Regions from separate parts of the Homo sapiens genome. Here region 2 is linked to region 1. The links are contacts of gene promoters, found by promoter capture Hi-C in human tissues and cell types (Jung and others, 2019). All regions are on one chromosome and are shown on one strand. The core of a region is centred on a gene start or on the middle of the fragment in contact, and the rest is flanking DNA. Distances in the headings are between cores, read along the strand shown. Region 1 holds the start of GJB1 (gap junction protein beta 1). Region 2 overlaps MED12 (mediator complex subunit 12).

What was found. The method cuts DNA at HindIII sites, captures the fragments that hold promoters and counts their contacts. A contact is called where the count stands out against the background at its distance.
Region 2: a fragment that was not itself captured here is called in contact with the fragment with the promoter of GJB1 in region 1 in 2 of the 25 tissues and cell types used here (adrenal gland and neural progenitor cells).

Annotation. Positions count from the first base shown.
Region 1 is chrX:71,221,562-71,224,473 of GRCh38, reverse strand. It overlaps GJB1 (gap junction protein beta 1), which reads right to left and starts at 1,250. Exons shown (of 2, transcript NM_000166.6): 1 at 1,139-1,250; 2 at 1-782. The coding sequence starts at 766. The HindIII fragment of the contact is 28,615 bases long and covers 1-2,912 here.
Region 2 is chrX:71,139,124-71,141,823 of GRCh38, reverse strand. It overlaps MED12 (mediator complex subunit 12), which reads right to left. Exons shown (of 45, transcript NM_005120.3): 42 at 967-1,189; 43 at 454-594. Among named protein-coding and RNA genes, the nearest start is that of NLGN3, 4.4 kb to the left of the region's middle. The HindIII fragment of the contact is 7,777 bases long and covers 1-2,700 here.

The DNA.
Region 1 (2,912 bases), core at 1-2,500:
CCTGCTCACTCAGCAGCTTGTTGATCTCATTCTGCTTGTATTCAGGTGAGAGGCGGTGGCCGAAGCCCGAGCCCTTGCGGGAAGGTGGATTGGAGCGGCGCTGGGCTCGGCGGGCACAGGCCCGGATGATGAGGTACACCACCTCGGCCACATTGAGGATGATGCAGATGCCAGAGGCAGCTAGCATGAAGACGGTGAAGACGGTTTTCTCGGTGGGGCGGGACACGAAGCAGTCCACTGTGTTGGGGCAGGGGTAGACGTCGCACTTGACCAGCCGCACCATGGCATAGCCAGGGTAGAGCAGATAAAAGACATACATGAAGACGGCCTCAAACAACAGCCGGAACACCACGCTGATGACATAGGTCCACCACAGTGTCCCTGAGATGTGGACCTTGTGCCTCTTCACCTCCTCCAGGTGTAGGGGGTCCCCATGGCCCTCAAGCCGTAGCATTTTCTTCTCTATGTGTTGCTGGTGAGCCACGTGCATGGCCACGAGGAGAGCTGGGGTGGAAACTAGGATGAGCTGCAGGGACCACAGCCGCACATGGGAGATGGGGAAGAATTGGTCATAGCAAACGCTGTTGCAGCCAGGCTGGAGTGTGTTGCAGATGAAGGAAGATTTCTCATCACCCCACACACTCTCTGCAGCCACCACCAGCACCATGATTCTGAAGATGAAGATGACCGAGAGCCATACTCGGCCAATGGCAGTAGAATGCCGGTTCACGCCACTGAGCAAGGTGTACAAACCTGTCCAGTTCATCCTGCCTCATTCACACCTGCAAAACACCAGCCATGAAGCAAGCTGTCAGAAAGCTGGGGTGGAAAGTCGGGCGCCATAGCACTGCCTGCGCACCCCCCCTCAACTCTTCCAAGAGCCAGTAGCAGGAAAGGAAGGATGGTCATGTCTTTCCTCGTCACCCCATCTCCCTTGCCAGCTTCTCCTCCTCCTCACTCACTTGACTTGACCTCCCTGAGCCCCATCCCCCTTCTTCGCTTTCATCCAACATTCTTTTCCCGCCAGCCCCTTTCTTTGCCAAGCCCATCTTGTTCCGATATCAGCCATCCCCTATGGCTCCCTGTCCCCTAGCTCCTTAACTCCAGACCTGGGGCAAACTCAACAAAGCCCTCTTACCTTGGGGAGCGCCTATCCCTGAGGCCACCCAGACAGGTCCCCTATGGTCTCATGTCTGTGCAGGGGGAGTGGTCCCTGGGCTCCGCGCCTGCGTCCCAATTCATCACCGCCCGGTGCTGGGGAGTCATATGCTGCTTTATACCCAGTGTCTGCACAATGAGACCTTTGTGGGGCTCTGAACAACGCCCTTTAGAATTCAGATCAAACGCCCTGACTTCCGCCCACCCTACACACAGAGCACTTGTGTCCCAGCGCCGGACACCCAGCCTGCACCCACCTGTTCTGTGCCCGCCCGGTCCATCGCCGCACCCGCCCCATAGCCCCACCAGAAGAATGGCCACGGGGGGGCGGGGGGAGGGAGATAAAACACAGGCAGGTGGATGTGAAGAGGGGACCCCAGGGGACCCAGAGGCTCTGGGCTGAGGCCCTCCCCCATGGCCCCGTCAGAAGCTTAAGGTCACCAGGATTTTCCCTGAGGCTTAGATCCTCTCCGGAATATGGAGAGGAAAGAGGACAGGAAAGAGAGCTCATTTATGAAGCCACAAACTGTGCTGAGCGTTGTTCCATACATTTTTTCTTTCGACCCATTTAGGAAGCCTGTTATCCCATTTTCCAGATGAAGAAGCTGAAGCTCAGATAAGTAACTCCTCAAGGTCACACCGTTCCAAAGCGGTAGGATAGGTAGGATGAAACAATGTATCTGAGACAGAAGTCTTTCTACAGCAGGCTCCCTGTGCTTCTGCAGATAGTGTCTGTAGAAAGCAAAGGCTAACCATTAAAAAAAAAAAAAAAAAAAGGCTGGGCGCCGTTGCTCACGCCTGTAATCCCAGCACTTTAGGAGGCTGAAGTGGGCAGATCACTTGAGGTCAGGAGATCAAGACCATCCTGGCTAACAATGTGAAACCCCATCTCTACTAAAAATACAAAAAATTAGCCGTGTGTGGTGGCGCATGCCTGTAATCCCAGCTGCTGGGTGGGAGAATCACTGGAACCCAGGAGGCAGAGGTTGCAGTGGGCCAAGATTGCACCACTGCACTCCAGTCCGGGCGACAGAGCAAGACTCCGTCTCAAAAAAAAAAAAAAATCTTCTCAGGAAAAGATAACAAAGTTGCTTTGGGGGAATAAATGGTCTGTCAAACCCAAGATCTCTCCTTTTTCTCCCTAATGCTGTGGGTTGTTTTTTATTAGAGGGTGGGGACAAGGTCTGGCTATATCACTAAGGCTAGAGTGCAGTGGCACAATCACTGCTCACTGCAGCCTTGACCTCCTGGGCTCCAGCGATCCTCCCACCTCAGCCTCTCAATTAGCTGGGACCACAGGTATGTGTCACCATGCCCAGCTAATTTTTCAATTTTTTTTTTTTGTAGAGATGGGGGGCTTGCTATGTTGCCCAGGCTGGTCTTGAACTCCTGGGCTCAAGCGATCTTCCCACTTTTGCCTCCCAAAGTGTTGGGTTTACAGGTGTGAGCCACCTTGAGCAGTCCCCAATGCTGTTGTTGACCTATAGGGTCTGTCTGAGACCCCATTGCTGCCCAGCCCCCAACCCCAAGTGCATATTGCAACCTCGTGGTTTCAGGAGCTTGCCAGTTGCTCTAGGGAGGAAATTCTCCTCTATCCCTTAGGCAGGCTAAGAAGGCTTCTCCCACCTCTTGCCACTTCTGCCATTAAGTTGCAAGGAGATCATACTAGCAGCAGGAAACTGAATGTGAGGAGGACATGCAGCCCTGGACCATAGGAGGTGCAGTGATCCCTGGAGTCATTTCCTGACCCCAGT
Region 2 (2,700 bases), core at 61-2,560, 83 kb after region 1:
TTCCCAATCCGTTTTTTTTTTTGAGATGGAGTCTCGCTCTGTCCCCCAGGCTGGAGTGCAGTGGCATGATCTTGGCTCACTGCAACCTCTGCCTCCCAAGTTCAAGCAATTCTCTGCCTCAGCCTCTTGAGTAGCTGAGATAACAGGCACCTGCCACCATGCCCGGCTTATTTATTATTATTATTTTTTGTATTTTTAGTAGAGACGGGGTTTCACCATCTTGGCCAGGCTGGTCTTGAACTCCTGACCTCAAGTGATCCACCTGCCTTGGCCTCCCAAAGTGCTGGGATTACAGGCGTGAGCCACTGCGCCTGGCCTCCCAATCCATTTTTAGGGTGCCATGCCCTGCCTCCCACCTCTACCCTATTCCATACTGTCCCCAACCCAGTTCACTGGCTGCGTGCCCAACCTGGGCAGCTGTCCCTGAGCCTGGGGCTGTAGTCCAGCAGCTACCTGGGGCTGGGACTGGGGCTGGGGTTGGGGAGGAGCCGCCTGTTGCTGCTGTTGCTGCTGGTGTTGCTGTTGTTGCTGTTGCTGCTGCTGCTGTTGCTGTTGCTGCTGCTGCTGCTGCTGCTGTTGCTGTTGCTGCTGCTGCTATAAGAACACAAAAGATACTTCAGAAGGAGCAGAGGGAGGAAGCTAAGCCTCAGAACTAAAGGGCTGAGGGCAGGGGATGAGGAAGCAGGGTGGGAGCTCGGGGTCTACTGCCTTCCCTTTTTAGACAGCTGCACAGAAAGAAACCAAATCTAGGGTACCCAGCAGACAATGTCCAACTCTCTCCCACTATGATCCCCAGAAAACAAAAAGGGGGAGGGTAGAAAACTTCTCCAGCACCACTAGAGGCCAGCCGCTCTGCTAGGTGTTTTGGTACACTGCCTTGTTTAGTCTCGGTAACTGTGTGGGAAGAACTTGTGCCTCTCTTCCTCCCTGGGCTCCCAGGTCCCAGATGAAATCCCAGTGCCTTACCCGCAGGATCTGCTGCTGCTGCTGCTGCCGGATGTGGTACTGCTGCTGCTGCTGCTGCTGTTGCTGTTGCTGCTGCTGCTGCTGTTGCTGTTGCTGCTGTTGCTGCTGCTGCTGCTGCTCAGGTAGGATGGCTGTTGAACGGACGCCTGCCTGGACGCCCTGGGCACTCATTGGAGTCATGGTACTTATCATGGGTGTCTGCTGCAGTGTCTGGTGTGAAAACCTCCAAAGATAAGAGGGTCAGAGGTCAAGGCATGAGGGAGGTGAGGAGAGGGGGTCAGTATAAACCTTGGGTCCCTGACCTGAAAGAAACGTTAGCAGGTTATTTCATTCATTCCTCGTGTCACTAACCAGACTTCCAGTCTGGGGAATAAGTTGCATAAGATGATACTCTATTTTAGTGTCTCATAACCTTAATGGTTAGGAATTTTTCAATTCTGCATTAGCTATTTTTCTGTTACAAAAATGAAAAATAGGGCTGGGTGCGGTGGCTCACACCTGTAATCCCAGCACTTTGGGAGGCTAAGGTGGGTGGATCACTTGAGGTCAGGAGTTCTAGACCAGCCTGGCAACATGGTGAAACCCCATCTCTAGCAAAAATACAAAAAAAAATAGCTGAGCGTGGTAGTGGATGCCTGTAATCCCAGCTACTCAGGAGGCTGAGGCAGGAGAATTGCTTGAACCTGGGAGGTGGAAGTTGCAGTGAGCCAAGATTGCACCACTGCACTCCAGCCTGGATGACAGAGCGAGACTCCATCTCAAAAAAAAAAAAAAAAAGAAAGAAAAGAAAAGAAAAAAATAGTCTTAGCACAAGATAGGCATTCTATAAACACTCATTGAGGTTTTTTGCTGTTGCTGTTGTTGTTCCCAAATAACATTTCAAGTTGTTCTACCACATGTGTATATCACTTCAAGAGTCTACTGGCCAGGCTCCCCGTCTCAAGTCTTCTTTTTTTTTTGAGACAGAGTCTCACTCTGTTGCCCAGGCTGGAGTGCAATGATGCGATCTCGGCTCACTGCAACCTCCACCTCTCAGGTTCAAGTGATTCTCTTGCCTCAGCCCCCCAAGTAGCTGGGATTACAGGCACATGCCACCACACCCAGATAATTTTTGTATTTTTAGTAGAGACGGGATTTCACCATGTTGACCAGGCTGGTCTCGAACTCCTGATCTTAGGTGATCTGCCTGCCTGGGCCTCCCAAAGTACTGGGATTACAGGCATGAGCCACCGTGCCTGGCCTGAAGTCTTCTTCTTGCACCTTCCAGTACACATCCTATCCATTCATTCCAAGGAACCTTGCAACATACCCAACTCCTCCTATCACTCTTCTGATCAAAAGAGCCCTTTCTGGGACTGCGTCTCAATTCTTCGGCTGAGCATTCAAGGCCATCTCTCAGCCTGCCCCCTCCTAGCCTAGCCCCAGTGACTTCCCCAGCACAGATTTTACACTCCATCCAGGCCCTTCTCCCCAGGCACCATCCTCATTCTGGTCCCCATGTCTTTGTTCACGTTACATCCTCTACCTGGAATGCCCTTTCTTTTCCTCTTCTCCACAAATCCCAATCACAGCTATTCTTCAGAGGCCAACTCAAGTCTGACCTCCTTCATGAAACATTCTCTGATGAGTCAGGCCCACAGATATTACCACGTACTTTTTCTCAATCCACATTTTACCTCATAGCATACAACTGCATACCTGATTATATCTTTGCTCAGAGTGTTCTCTCAATAT